Linked DNA regions of Homo sapiens: region 2 is linked to region 1. Evidence: promoter capture Hi-C in human tissues and cell types (Jung and others, 2019). All regions are on one chromosome and are shown on one strand. Each heading gives the region's core, a stretch centred on a gene start or on the middle of the fragment in contact. The rest is flanking DNA. Distances are from core to core; before and after follow the strand shown.

The links. The method cuts DNA at HindIII sites, captures the fragments that hold promoters and counts their contacts. A contact is called where the count stands out against the background at its distance.
Region 2: a contact is called between a fragment that was not itself captured here and the fragment with the promoter of SLC2A11 in region 1, in 2 of the 25 tissues and cell types used here (mesendoderm cells and spleen).

The regions. Positions count from the first base shown.
Region 1 is chr22:23,854,901-23,862,367 of GRCh38, forward strand. It overlaps SLC2A11 (solute carrier family 2 member 11), which reads left to right and starts at 2,975. Exons shown (of 12, transcript NM_001024939.4): 1 at 2,975-3,129; 2 at 7,204-7,302. The coding sequence starts at 3,100. The HindIII fragment of the contact is 17,543 bases long and covers 1-6,988 here.
Region 2 is chr22:23,550,661-23,558,127 of GRCh38, forward strand. No RefSeq gene overlaps it. Among named protein-coding and RNA genes, the nearest start is that of PCAT14, 16 kb to the left of the region's middle. The HindIII fragment of the contact is 7,531 bases long and covers 1-6,483 here.

The DNA.
Region 1 (7,467 bases), core at 1,725-4,224:
GGAGGTGGGGGGATCAGCCCCCCGCCTGGCCAGCCGCCCCATCCGGGAGGTGAGGGGCGCCTCTGCCCGGCCGCCCCTACTGGGAAGTGAGGAGCCCCTCTGCCCGGCCAGCCGCCCCGCCCGGGAGGGAGGTGGGGGGGTCATCCCCCCACCTGGCCAGCCGCCCCATCCGGGAGGGAGGTGGGGGGGTCAGCCCCCTGCCCGGCCAGCCGCCCCGTCCGGGAGGGGGGAGGGGGGGTCAGCCCCCTGCCCGGCCAGCCGCCCCGTCCGGGAGGGAGGTGGGGGGGGTCAGCCCCCCGCCTGGCCAGCCGCCCCGTCCGGGAGGGAGGTGGGGGGATCAGCCCCCCGCCTGGCCAGTCGCCCCGTCCGGGAGGTGAGGGGCGCCTCTGCCCGGCCGCCCCTACTGGAAAGTGAGGAGCCCCTCTGCCCGGCCAGCCGCCCCGTCCGGGAGGGAGGCGGGGTGGGGGGGGGGGGGTCGGCCAGCCGCCCCGTCCGGGAGGGAGGTGGGGGGGGTCAGCCCCCCTTCCGGCCGGCCGCCCCGTCCGGGAGGTGAGGGGCGCCTCTGCCCGGCCGCCCCTACTGGGAAGTGAGGACCCCTCTGCCCGGCCAGCCGCCCCGTCCGGGAGGGAGGTGGGGGGGACAGCCCCCCGCCCAGCCAGCCGCCCTATCCAGGAGGTGAGGGGCGCCTCTGCCCGGCCGTCCCTACTGGGAAGTGAGGAGCCCCTCTGCCTGGCCAGCCGCCCCGTCCGGGAGGGTGGTGGGGGGGTCAGCCCCCCGCCCGGCCAGCCGCCCCATCCGGGAGGTGAGGGGCGCTTCTGCCCGGCCGCCCCTACTGGGAAGTGAGGAGCCCCTCTGCCCGGCCACGACCCCGTCTGGGAGGTGTGCCCAGCGGCTCATTGGGGATGGGCCATGATGACAATGGCGGTTTTGTGGAATAGAAAGGCGGGAAGGGTGGGGAAAAAATTGAGAAATCGGATGGTTGCCGGGTCTCTGTGGATAGAAGTAGACATGGGAGACTTTTCATTTTGTTCTGTACTAAGAAAAATTCTTCTGCCTTGGGATCCTGTTGATCTGTGACCTTATCCCCAACCCTGTGCTCTCTGAAACATGTGCTGTGTCCACTCAGGGTTAAATGGATTAAGGGCGGTGCAAGATGTGCTTTGTTAAACAGATGCTTGAAGGCAGCATGCTCGTTAAGAGTCATCACCACTCCCTAATCTTAAGTACCCAGGGACACAAACACTGCGGAAGGCCAAGGCCGCAGGGTCCTCTGCCTAGGAAAACCAGAGACCTTTGTTCACTTGTTTATCTGCTGACCTTCCCTCCACTATTGTCCTATGACCCTGCCAAATCCCCCTCTGCGAGAAACACCCAAGAATGATCAATAAAAAAAAAATAAATAAATTAAAAAAAAAAAAGAAAAAAATTAACCTATCAAAATAAAATATCAGCAGTTGAAACTAACAATGTATTAATAACAATAATATTATGACCAAGTTGCGTCTACCCCAAGAATTCAAGAATGGTTTACCATTAGAAAGTTTATTGATGTAACTGATCTCATTAACAGATTAAAGGAGAATACCCATATGATCATCTTAATAGATGCACGAAAAGCATGCAATAAAATACCTATTTATTATAACTGCTAATATTTTGTGTTTTTCCTTAAAAATGCAGTGTTTTTAGGAATTAAAGTTCAGAGCAGCAAAAGTCAAACAAAAACCAAGTCTGAGCAATAGAGCTACTACAGTGCCCATCACAGTGTCTGCTCAGGTGACTTCTTAAGGTCATGTCCAGCTCTATGTTTCTGTGACCACAAATAGCATCTTTGGCAAGTCTAGTTTCAGTTGGTCTTTGTCCAGCTCCTGGATTCCTCCATGCAGGGCCTGAGAAGCCCTGAGGGATAAAAGATTAATCCGGTTCAGTGGACTCTGTGGTTCCTCAACTCCAAGTGCCCCCAGCATAAGTCGGACCTGCCTCTCACGCAATGGATCCCCTGGCGGCAACCCGAGACCGGTTCTCCTACCCGCATTCCGCCAAGTCTCTCGCTCTGCCCAGGACGCACAGATGAGAGCGCTCCGAAGACTGGTGGGTCTATCTTTCGGTCTTTCCTAATTTTCCCGTCCTCTGGGGAAAGGTCGGGGATACCTGAACCAAAGTGTGTGTGTGTGGGGGGGGGGGGGTGTAGGTGGGGCGTGCATAGATGTGCACAACCAAGGGCTTGGCCCTCCGGAGAACGCCCAGGGGCAGTGGCCTCCGAGGTTCTGGCGGCCGGCAGTGGCGACCGGCGCAGGGAATCGCGCAGGGTTGCGGCTGAGGTCAGACCAGCGAGAGACAGAGACCCGCAGACATTTAGTCCAGAGACTGTAGCAAAGGAGGGGGACGAGGGGCCAGAGCCGGAATTTCGGGGGAGGACTTGGGAGCGCGGCGACCAGAGTCGCTTGCTGGCACTTGCGAGGGCGAATGCAGGGGCTTGGCCGAGATGACCTTGGACCAGAGCTCCCTTCCGGCCTGCAGAGATGAGCTTGGGGCTTAGCCGAGTAAGGAGTGAGCGGCTTTTCAGCCTCAGTGCTGCGGCAGAGGCGGATGGAGGATGAACTGGAGCCGTCCTTACGGCCTCGGACGCAGGTGAGCTCCCAGCGGCGGCGACAAACCCCGCGGCGGTGACCCCAAACCCCCCCCCCGCGGCGGCGACTCCCCCCCAACACGCTGGGGCGAACTCCCCAGCACCCCCAGCCCTTCTTAAAAACGCTGAGTCCGCGCATGCGCCTCAGGCGCCCTCCGCGACACTCTAGCGGCTCTGCGCTTCACTGCGCCTGAGCTTGAGTCTCAGGCCTTAGTCCCGGCCATCGTTTAGCGTTGCGCGAACCCTCAGCTGGTGCGGCCGCTCTCAATACCCACTGCGCTTGCGCTACAGCTTCGTCTCGACGGGTTTGCTCCTCTCAAACGCTCACTGCGCGTGCGCTAGCGCCTCTTTCACCACTGGGCGCTGCGCGCTGCCCTTCCCTCCGCGCACAGGCTGCCGGCTCACCGCTTGCTAATGGCAGCCGGGGTCTCCCTGGGACAGCAAGACCTCCGCTCAGGCCCCTCTTTCGAATGCTCCACGCCCTCCTGCGATCTAGAATGGTATGAATTCTCATACTTGCCCAGACCAGGCGTTTCAGATGAGGGATTGCGGACCTGAGTGAACTGCGCAGGTGCAGCCACCTGGGAGGCTTAACTAAGTCGTCAAATGTTCAAAAATATCGTGCTTGTATGTACAGTGGCGTTAGGTGCTAGGCTCAGATGTGCATAGGCAGGTGTTTACGCCCAGGGTCGGCCTGTGGGCCAGAGCAAGGTTGCTGGACCCTGGCATCCCAGCCCCCAGAGATGCTAAATCCTCTGCCGATCAGCCCTGACCTCAGAGGCAGTAAGCCCTCCGAGCGCTGCAATCCTGACTGCTCGCCCCCTCCCGAGACTGTTTCCCACCCCCGCCTCTTTCCTCCTCATGCTCCCTCAGCTCTGACCTGACGTCCTGCCTCACAGAGGGAAAGGGCGCAGCCAGAGGAGAGCGCCCGCACTGCACTGCCCACCGCTTCTAGGGGTTCCTTCCCAATCTGGACTGATTTCTTTAGGTATTTGCATGGCACATTCCCTCACCTCCTTTGTCTTGATTTGCACTTGTATTCCTTGACAGCCTTATTTAAAATAGCACCAACTAAGGTGGGAGGATCGCCCAGGAGTTCGAAGCTGCAGGGATCTAATAGGATCTCACCACTGCACTCCAGCGTGGGCGACGTAGCGAGACCTTGTCTCTAAAAAATAAAAATAAAATAAAATAAAATAAAATAGCACCACCTGGTCCAAACACTTCCTACGCCCCTTCACTGCTTTAAGTCTCTGTAGCACCAGCTGATGTACTATATATTTTGCTTGTTCATTTTGCGATTGCTTGTCTTTCTCTGCTGGAAGGAAAGCTCTGACAGCTCATGGATTTTGTCTGTTGTTCACTGCTGTATCCCAACACCTAGAACAGTAGGATTATTGACCATAATAGGGAGGCAATAAATCTTTGTTTGCTGAATTAATGGTCCCTATCGTAGCTAATGTCTGAATGCTTACCATGACCAGGCACGGTATAGGCAATCTCCATGCATGATCTCATTGAATTCAACGATTTCCTGTAGTCTTAGAGACCTGTCAATATCTCCTGCTACATGAGCTCAGCTGCCATCAAGCACTGTGTTCGCTGCTTCCTTCACATCTGCTGTCTTAAGGGAGCTCTCACTTCCATGCGGCCCCCGTGGAGCTGTAATTTGGCCTCAATGGGACCAGATGCCAGGTTTCTCACCTGGCTTCTTCCTAAGGCTTCCAGCCTTAGAGAAAGTTACTTAGGCCTTATTGGAACTATGGGCAGCCAGGGCCCCTGTCACCAACCTGTCTCCAGACCTATGGCAAGGCCTTCAGCAGGATTCTGCCCTCCAGAGCCACTTCCTCTGCTCCCCCAGCCTCCAGTGCAGTATCTCACTGAATGGTGAAAGCACAGCTGTCTCTTTCCCAGCTGTATCTTGCCCCCCAGCACACTTCCTGGCTGAGATAAACATTCAGCATTTTTTTTTTTTTGAGATGGAGTCTCACTCTGTTGCCCAGGCAGGAGGGCAGTGGCGCGATCTGGGCTTACTGCAACCTCCGCCTCCCTCCCGGATTCAAGCAATTCTGCCTCAGCCTTCTGAGTAGCTGGGATTACAGGTGCCCACCACCAAGCCCGGCTAATTTTTGTATTTTTAGTAGAGACAGGGTTTTACCATGTTGGCCAGGCTGGTCTCGAACTCCTGACCTCAAGTGGTCTGCCCACCTCGGCCTCCCAAAGTGCAGGGATTGCAGGTGTGGGCCACGACATCCGGCCAACACTCAGTATTTGACTAATAAATGAATAAATAGTCCGTAGGTTCTGGAAACTTCAGAAAACCTTAGCCAAACATCCTTCTGTCATGAAAATTGTATCAAAGTTTTCAAAAATAATACATTTAATTCTACAGAACAATTTGCCAGAACAAGAAAGGCAGTATTTTTTGGGGGAAGATATCAACGATTCAATTTTTGTAAAGTCAACTACTTTGCAAATATCTAGGAAAATACCTGAGGGAAGGAGTTAATTGTTGTGCCTTTGGAGGAGTGGAGAACTTTCAGTATATACTGAATTTTCAAAAATCTTAACAAACGTGTCATTTTGTAATTAAAAATCACAAAAGAGTGGGCTGGGTATGGTGGCTCACGCCTGTAATCCTACCACTTTGGGAGGCCAAGGCGAGTGTATCGCTTGAGCTCAGGAGTTTGAAACCAGCCTGGGCAATATGGTGAAATCCCATCTCTACAAAAAAATTAGCCCAGCATGATGGTGTGTGCCTGTAGTCCCAGCTACTTGGGGGGCTGAGGTGGGAGGATCGCTTGAGCCCAGGAGGTTGAGGCTGCAGTGAATCAAGATTGCGACACTGCACTCCAGCCTGGGTGACAAAATGAGACCTTGTCTCAAAAAACAAAACAGAAAATCACCAAAGGAGAAAGATAAATACTTCTGTGAATCCCTAAGACGACCTCAACTACAGGTCGGGTGCGGTGGCTCACGTCTGTAATCTCAGCAATTTGGAGGCTGAGGTGGGCAGATCACTTGAGGTCAGGAGTCTCTACTAAAAATACAAAAATTAGCTGGGTGTGGTGGTGCATGCCTGCAATCCCAGCTACTCGGGAGGCTGAGGCAGGAGAATCGCTTGAACTGGGAGGCGGAGATTGCAGTGAGCCAAGATTGCGCCATTGCACTCCAGCCTGGGCGGCAGAGCAAAACTCCGTCTCTTTTTTTTTTTTGAGACGGAGTCTCACTCAACCTCCACCTCCTGGGTTCAAGCAGTTCTCTGCCTCAGCCTCCCGAGTAGCTGGGATTACAGACGCCTGCCAACACGCCCAGCTAATTTTTTTTTTTTTTTGAGACGGAGTCTCGCTCTGTCGCCCAGGCTGGAGTGCAGTGGCGCTATCTCGGCTCACTGCTAGCTCCGCCTCCCGGGTTCACACCATTCTCCTGCCTCAGCCTCCCCAGTAGCTGGGTCTACAGGTGCCCGCCACCACGCCTGGCTAATTTTTTGTATTTTTAGTAGAGGCGGGATTTCACCGTGTTAGCCAGGATGGTCTCAATCTCCTGACCTCGTGATCCGCCCGCCTCGGCCTCCCAAAGTGCTGGGATTACAGGCATGAGCCACTGCGCCCGGCCAATTTTTGTGTTTTTAGTAGAGATGGGGTTTCACCATCTTGGCCAGGTTGGTCTTAAACTTCTGACATTGTGATCCACCCGCCTCGGCCTCCCAAAGTGCTGGGATTACAGGTGTGAGCCACTGCGCCAGGCCAAGACTCAGTCTCAAAAAAAAAAAAAAAAAAAAAAAAAGAAAATCCCAACTATCCCAACTACAAAGGATGAGGCATCAGGGATGCCTTGGGGAATTCTCCCTCCATCTCTAAGGGTGTTTCACTGTCCTTTTGTGTACCAAGTGTGCATGACTCATGGGTACCCAGCCTAGAAGTAGGCTTCATTATCTGCAGGTCCAGGTAAGGAAGTCACTTAGGATGAGAAAGGAAGGGGAGAGCTGGGATAGGGACCAGGCACCTGGGCCATTTATGCTGCCTCTCTACTACTCATATGTCCCCAAGTCCTTGCACCTGCAGGTCCATGTGGCATCTTCTCTTAGCCTCATTGCAGAACATGCTGGTGGGAGGTAAGAGAGGTGGCTCAGCCCAGATTCCTGGAGCCTGGCCACTCTGTTGGAGAAGGTTTTCCTGGGGCAAGTCAGAGGCTCCTGTCCTGCTGGAGGCAGAGCCTTACTCTACTGGGGCCCCAGCTCAGGGGACTGTCTTCCCCAAACACAGCAGACGTGCTCAGGGGCAGCCCAACAAGGAGGGATGGGAACCGCTCTCCAGCTCAGGGAAATGTTGGGGCTATGGGTGGGGTGAGGGTAAAGTGGGGTCCTGGACTCAGAACAGGAGGCTTGGGTTCCTCTGCTACCTGCCAGCCATGTGACCCAGGTAACTCCTCTCTGTGCCTCACTTTCCTCATCTGCAAAGTGGAGACATCACTGCCTGATTCAAATAAATTGCAATGCTGTGATTGGCAGCTCTGGTCCAGGGAGGGGGTGGAGGCTGTTGTTGGTCACTCTGTGTTCTCTCCTCTCTCCTCAGATTCAGGGCAGGATCCTGCTCCTGACCATCTGCGCTGCCGGCATTGGTGGGACTTTTCAGTTTGGCTATAACCTCTCTATCATCAATGCCCCGACCTTGGTATGTATCCTCTCTGGGTGGAGACTGTCCCTGTCTGAGTGGGTACTGGCTAACAGCTGCCCACTGAGGGGCTTCAGCCAGGCATCCACTAGGTGGCACTTTCTGCCACAAGTTTGTCTCCATTGGGTTGGCCCACAGGTTCCTGCAGGTTCAAACTGAGCATAC
Region 2 (7,467 bases), core at 1,468-3,967, 300 kb before region 1:
GCATCCTCCATCCTTCCATCCATCTATCTTTCCATCAATTCTTCACCCGTCCTCCCATCCATCTTTTCATGCGTTCACCCATCCATCCTTCATTCATCATCCCATCCATCTTTTCATCCATCTTCCCATCCATCCTCCCATTTATTATCCCATGTATCCTTTATCCATTCTCCCACCTATTCTTTATTTATTCTCCCATCCATCCTCCTATTCATCTTTCCATCCATCCACCCTTCCATCCTCCCATTCATCCTCCCATTCATTCCCCCTTATATCCTTTGTCTATTCTCCCATCCATCCACGCTTCATCTTTCCATCTTTCCACCCATCCACCTTTCTATCCATCTTCTATCTATCCTCCCATCCATCTTTCCATCCATACTCCCATCCATTCTTCATTCTCCCATCCATCTTTTTATCCATCCTTCACCTGTCCTCCCATCTGTCCTCCATCCATCTATCATCCTATCCATCCTCCCATCCATCCATCTTCTCATCTATCCATTCTCCCTCCATTATCCCATCCATCTTCCATCCTTCATTCATCCTCCCATCCATCCTCCAATCATCCTCCCAACCATCCTTCCATCCATCCCCCCATCCATTATCCATCCACCATCCATCCTCTCATCCATCCTTCATTCATCTTCTATCCATCTTTCCATTTATCCTTCAACCACCCTCTCATCCATTCTCCCATCCATACCCCATTCATCTTTTCACCCATCCTCCCAGCCATCCTCCATCCACACTTCATCCATCCTTCATTCCTCCTCTCATCCATCCTTCCATTCTCTTATCCATCTTCCATTTATTCCTCTGTTCACCCTGCCATTTATCCTCCCATTCACTCTCCAATCTATCCTCCATCCATTCTCCATCCATTCTCCCATCCATTTTTCCATCCATCCTCCAATTCATTCCTCTGTCTATCCCCATCCATCATCACCATCCTCCCATCCATTCTCCCTTTTGTTCTCCATCTATCTTTCCATCCATCCTTCCAGCAATCCTCCATCCATCCTTCATCCATCTTCTGTTCATCCTCCATTCATTCTCTTTCCACTTTCCCATCCATCCTCCCTCCATTCTCTATCCATCCTCTCATCCATTTTTTCCTTCCATCCTCCATCCATTCTCCCATCCTTTTGTCGATCCTCCCATGCATCCTCCCATCCATCTTTCATTTCATCCTTCAACCACCCTCCCATTCATCCTCTACTCATCTTTTCATCCATCCTCCCAGCCATTCTCCATCCATCTTTCATCCATCCTCCATCCATCTTCCATTCATCCACCCATCCACCCTCCCATCAATCCTCCCATCTTTCTTTCCATTCATCTTTCCTCTATTTCTCTGTCCACCCTCTATCCATCCTCCCATCCACCCTACCGTCTATCTTCCATCCATTCTCCATTTATCTTCCCATCCATTCTCCCTCCATCTTATTCTTCATTCATCCTCCCATCCATCTTTTTCATCCATCCTCCCATTCATTCCTCTGTCTATCCTCTCCTGCATCTTCCCATCCATTTTCCCATCTATCCTTCATTCATCCCGTCATCCATCCTCTTATTCATCTTTACATCCATCCTCCCATCCATCTTTTCATCCATCCTCCCATTCATTCCTCTGTCTATCCTCCCATGCATTCTACCATCCATTTTCTCATCTATCCTTCATTCATCCTGTCATCCATCCTCCCATCCATCTTTCCATCCATCCACCCATCCATCCTTCATTCATCCTCCCATTCATTTTTCCATCCATCCTCCCATTCATCCATTCTCCCTCTATCCTCCCATCCATCCTTTCATCCATCCTTTCGTCAATTTTCTCATCAATGCTCCCATCCATCTTTCCATTTATCTTCCATCCATTCCTCTGTCCACCCTCTCATCCATTCTCCCATCAATCTTCCATTCATTCTCCATCCATCCTCTCTTCTACCTCCCTCCACCTTCCCATCTATCCTCCATCTATCCTCCCATCCATCCTCCCATCCATCTTTCCATCCATTCTCCTATCCATTCTTCTGTCCATCCTCCCATGCATCCTCCCATCCATTTTCCCATCTATCCTTCATCTTTCCTCCCACCCATCCTCCCATCCATCTTTCTATCCATCCACCCATTCATCTTTCATTCATCCTTGCATCCATTTTTCCATCCATCCTTCAGCCATCTTCCCATCCATCTTCTCATCAATCCTCTCATCCATCTTTCCATCCATTCTCCCCCATCCTCCCATCCATCCTTTCATCCATCCTCCCATCCACCCTTGCAACAATTTTTCCATCCATCCTCCCATCCACCTTCCCATCAATCTCCCTTCAGTCTCCATTCATTCTCCTCTATTCCTTGTTCATTCTCTTATCCTCCCATGCCCCAAGCCCTCACTCAGGCTTTGTCATGCCTCTAAGCCTTAATATAGGCTGTTCTCTCAGCCAGGCCTGCTTTTTCTCCTCTTTGTTGGCCCAGGGACTCACACCTGTGTGGGACCTGCCCTGATACACTCCACACCCTCTCCTCCTGCACCTGGCCCTGCCTCTGCAGTACCAACTTCTCAGTGTCCACCTCAGTGCCAGCCACAGATGGGGAGTTCTGGTGGCCTTGCTGGCCCATGACCTCATTGGGGCCTGCTCTCTTGTGGCTCACCCCAAAGCAGAGGGAGTAGAGCCACCTCAGGGACACACACGGTGGGCTGCGCCTTGGGAGAACACAACTAATTTTAACAATGGCCTTAGGGAAGAGACAAATCTGTCCCTTTATTCCCTCCTTAGAGAAAAATCTGTGTGTGCATGTGTATATGCACACATGATTCAGAGCATCAAACGCTGCTGTGACTCGGGTGTCACCAGCCTCATTTGCCCAGTGCTAGAGGGGACAAACACACGACCTCCAGCCACAGGATAGTAGCTCTACATGCTGACTCTTGGCAAGCAGGGCCTGGTGTTTGTCCAGACGCCCAAACCCCTGGGGATGTCCTCACCTGGTTATGTGGTGCCCAGCAGTGTTTCAGTGAACCTTAACCAACCTTGGAGGGCTGCTGGGCAGAGTGGGAGAGCAAGTGTCTGGCTCCTGGTGAGTGGGTGCCCTTGTGCCAGCTAATGACCCCCATGGCCTTCAGCTGCTTTCCTGTCGACTGGGGAGGGGGTGCTCCCAGGCTGCTGTGAGGAGGTGGCCAGAAGAGCGGGAACAGTCCTATGTGTTTCCTTCTCTCCAGAGAGCCTGACCAGGGCTGATGAATTAGGGTGCATGGCCCAATTCACTGTCCATGGATCCACCTTGGATTTGGGGTCCCTGTGGGGATGTGAAGCTTCGGAAACTCCTCTGTCCCCCCACCTTCCTTTTCCCTTCCAAGACAGGATCTGGACTCTTGAAATTCTGCACACTAATAAAATTGTAACTAATTTACATCCAAGATGCGGAGTGAGTGGCAGCGGTTGTCATGGAGACCATCTCCAGGGCCCCGCTGCCTTCGCCTTTCGGTGCAGCCGAGAGTTCAAGAGATTCTCGCCGAGTGCTGCAGCTGGGGCCAGTCCTCATGCCTCCCGGGCACCCTGCCCTGCTCCCCCCATGCTGGGCAGGCCCTTGGGGGATGGAATGGAGGCAGCCCCCCTTGGAAAGGCCCCAAGTTCTGCCGATGGTGTTCTGAAGGTCAAAGTCCCTCTCTCCTGACTGTACATCTGCCCCCAGCACTGCCCATTCACCCTGTGGGCCCCACTGGCTCCGTTCACTCCAGATGGAAGCCCCCTCGAGGGACATGAGGCCCTATCCCCACAGCACAGCCAGCAAAGGCACTCAGAGTGGGGACAGTTTCCAGGGAAGGGGCAGAGCAGCAGAGCCCAAGCCACCCACAGACCTGTCCACCTGGGGTCCACCCTGGGAAATGCCCCACCCTGGACTCCATGAATCCCAAGATGGAGAAAATGCCCTCCGTGGCCTCACAGAGCTTGCCTGCCCACAGGAAAGACGTTGAAATAACCAGTACTGGCCAGGTGCGGTGGCTCATGCCTGTAATCCTAACATCTAGGGAGGCTGAGATGGGCGGGTCACTTGAGGTCAGGAGTTTGAGACCACCATGGCCAACATGGTGAAAACCGGTCTCTACTAAAAATACAAAAATTAGCCGAGGCATGGTGACTCGCGCCTGTAGTCCCAGCTATTTGGGAGGCTGAGGCAGGAGAATTGCTTGAACCCAGGAGACGGAGGTTGCAGTGAGCTGAGATCATGCCACTGCACCCCAACCGGGGCAACAGAGTGAGACTCCGTATCAAAAAAAAAAAGAAAAAGAAAAAAACGAACCAGTGCTGTGACTCTACGCCACACACTGTGCTGAACCCTTCGCATGTGAGATCTTGTCTCAATGTCAAGGCAACACAATGCGGTGGGCAATACTTTAAGCCCCCATTTCATCACGAACAAAAAGGTTGTAGACAGGTGGGTGGATAACACCCAAGTTCGGAGCCCTGGAAAGTACAAGGGCCTGAGGCAAAGCCAGGTCTCATTCTAAAACCGTCATGGAAAAGCTGATAAGCTGCCTGCAGAGAAGAAGCAGGATGAAATAATTATAACAAAGCAGGGTCGATGCAGTCAGAGAAGGGGGTGAGGGCACAAAGGGGCCCTCAGAATCATGAAATCTAAGTTGGGTTTTGAGGGATGAATAGGAGTTCCCCAAGGAGATACATGGAAGAAGAATGTTCTAGGCAGAGGGAACATGTGCAAAGGCACGGAGACGAGAATGTGCCCAGAACATTCAAATACCATAGGCTGGGTGCTGGGGGGTGATGCGGAGGAGGGAGGCGTTCAGTTGGAGCCGAAGAGGGAGCCAGGCTCCAAGGGGCTTCACTCACCAAGCTGAGCGCCCTGCACCTTATCCTGTAGGTGAGAGATTAAAGAGCTGGGTCCAAGCAGGCCCACCCCTGACATCTGTGGGCCCTGGAGCAAGAGCAGAAATGAAGGTCCAGGTAGCAAAGGTCTAGGTGTTCCCAAGTGAGAGAAGCAGCCAGGACGCTGCTGGCTGAAGGGCTCTTCTGTCCTCCTTCCCTCAGAAATGCCTTCACGGGCCTGGGGAGGCCAGGCTCTCATTTATATTCTTGTCTCTTCAGAGTTTTCCACCAGAACGTGAACTGGACCGGGGGCCACAGTCCCCCAGTCTGAAGGGAGACTCATGAAATGCAGATTCCTGGGCCCTGCGGCAGACCCAGGAGACCATGCTCCCGATGAAGATAAGGCGCTATATCTTTAAGAGGTTCCCCAGGTGATAATTATGCATGAAAGTCTAGAGAAGCCCCCCACCCCCTGCTGAAAGTAGCAGGAGTCCGGGGGTGGGGGTGGGGGGTACGTACAAGCAGATTTGTGTTCTAGAAATGGATCCCCAGCTATTGGGCAAATGTGGGCAGGGAGGAGAGCTGGGAGGGGCAGAGAGGCCTGGCAGCACCTAGGTTGGAGAGGGTGGCGGTCTGGTGCCAAGGCAGGATGGTTGGGTGGGGTGTGATACGCGGTGGGGGTGGTGGAGGGGGAAGGTTGTGTCAGCAGAGGCTGAGTTTGAAATTCACGATGGACAGGGCCTGGTGCTGATGAGGCTTGAAGGTGAGCAGGGATCCAGGGCAGCTCCTTTGGGATCATAAAATCTAATCAGACTGCAGGAGGCCTGGGCCCTGGGCCTCCATTAGGCAAGTACCCACTCCCCTCTGCTGATCTGGGCATCCCTGGGGCCCCTTCACTGTCACACTGAGGGTCTGAGTGGGGAAGAATTAAAAGCCCACCTCTGTCCCCGCCTACCACGATCCCCTACAGGAGCCTGCAGCCCTGCTGGGGAGACTGGAGGAGCAGCTGGGAGCAGCAGGCCACCAGGAGGGAAAGGTGGGCATGCCTCGGGGGTGGGAGGGTGGAGTGGCCAGGAGGGGAGGCTTCCCACTGGAGGAGGACTTTGAACCCTCTCACTTTCCATACACAGTTCCAGAAATCATCTTGATAATAAAAATAATAGCCGTGAAAATGACAGCAGCAACTATTGCCCTTAATCGAGCATATTTTTGTGCCAGACACTGAGCATGCAGCAAGGAAGTGGCAGAGTGGGCTGTCAGATCCTGAGCCATGGGCTGGAACCAGCTTTCCCTGTGCCAAGCAGAGAGGGGCTTAAAACTCAACTCCTACCCTTGGAACATTCACAAGCTGTTTGGCCATGAGACTGCTGGAGATGCCTCTCTAGGAGCATCTAGAAGGCTCTAGAAGGTCCATGCCTCTCTAGAAGGCTACGCTGGCAAACACTAGCTGTTGAGACCATGGAGGACTAGACTGTATTTATCAGCTGCAGGAGTTCAGAAGAGGGAGAGCTCATGGGAGCTGCTGGGAAAGGCATGACTTGAGCTGAATGCTGAAACAGCGGCCGCATTTGAAGAAGGGAGAGGAGGTGGAGAGGGGATCCTGGAAGGAGGCTCCAGCCTCGGCAATGGTGTGGGGGTGAGAATGCAGAAGGAGTTTCAAGAAGGTCAAACAGCTGCAGGGGCTGGCGAGTCACTGGAGGCAGGGATGGACACAGATCAGCCCAGGCCTGGTGCGTGTCCTCCTGCTTATTTCTATACCTCCAGGAGAGTATGACACCAGGACATCAAGGCGTCCACCCTTGTCAGGCCTGGGATGGTGCCGCACTGTTGGGGATGGGTTTGTGAGTTCCCAAGAAGAGCCACCCAGTAAGGGCCTCATCATGAAGGGGAGTGAGCTGAGGCTCTTGGGAAAATGGAGGCCTCAGATCTCCCCACAATCTTGGGAGAAAGGCTCCCATACCCCACACCCACCTTGACCAAGGGCCCAAAACCAGACGGGCAACAATGCAGGTCCAGAGTCATCAGCTTGGCCTGACTGTCCCCTGTCTGCCTCCAGCAGAGGTGAGTACCTTGGGTCCAAACCCTTCTGCCCCATTTACTGTGTGACCCCAGAGAAGTTCCTTAACCTCTCTGAACTGAATTTTCTCACTCATAGAGCGAGGATAAAAACTCCAGCCTCCAAAAGCGTATTGATTTGTTTTAGGATTAAATGGGATGAAGCTAAGAACTCACTTAATGGGGATTGCAGTGCAGACATCATGCTTGAAAAATGTTACTTCCCTCCTTTCCACCCTTAAACTCGGGGACAGGTCAGCTGTGACCACAGAAGGTGCCCACTTGACTTGTCCCTTGAGCTTCCACAATCCTCACTGCTTCTGCATCATCCAACAGTGGGGCCAGGCTGAGAATCCCGCCTGATACAGACCCGGTTGCTGTCTGTCTTTACATTTTACATTTAAATCTATGATCCATTACCAGCTTATTATTATTATTATTATTATTATTATTATTATTATTATTATATTTTGAGACAGGATCTCGCTCTGTTGCCCAGGCTGAAATGCAGTGGCACAATCACAGATCACTGCAGCCTCAACCCCCTCCCAGGCTCAGGCAGTCCTCCCACCTCAGGATT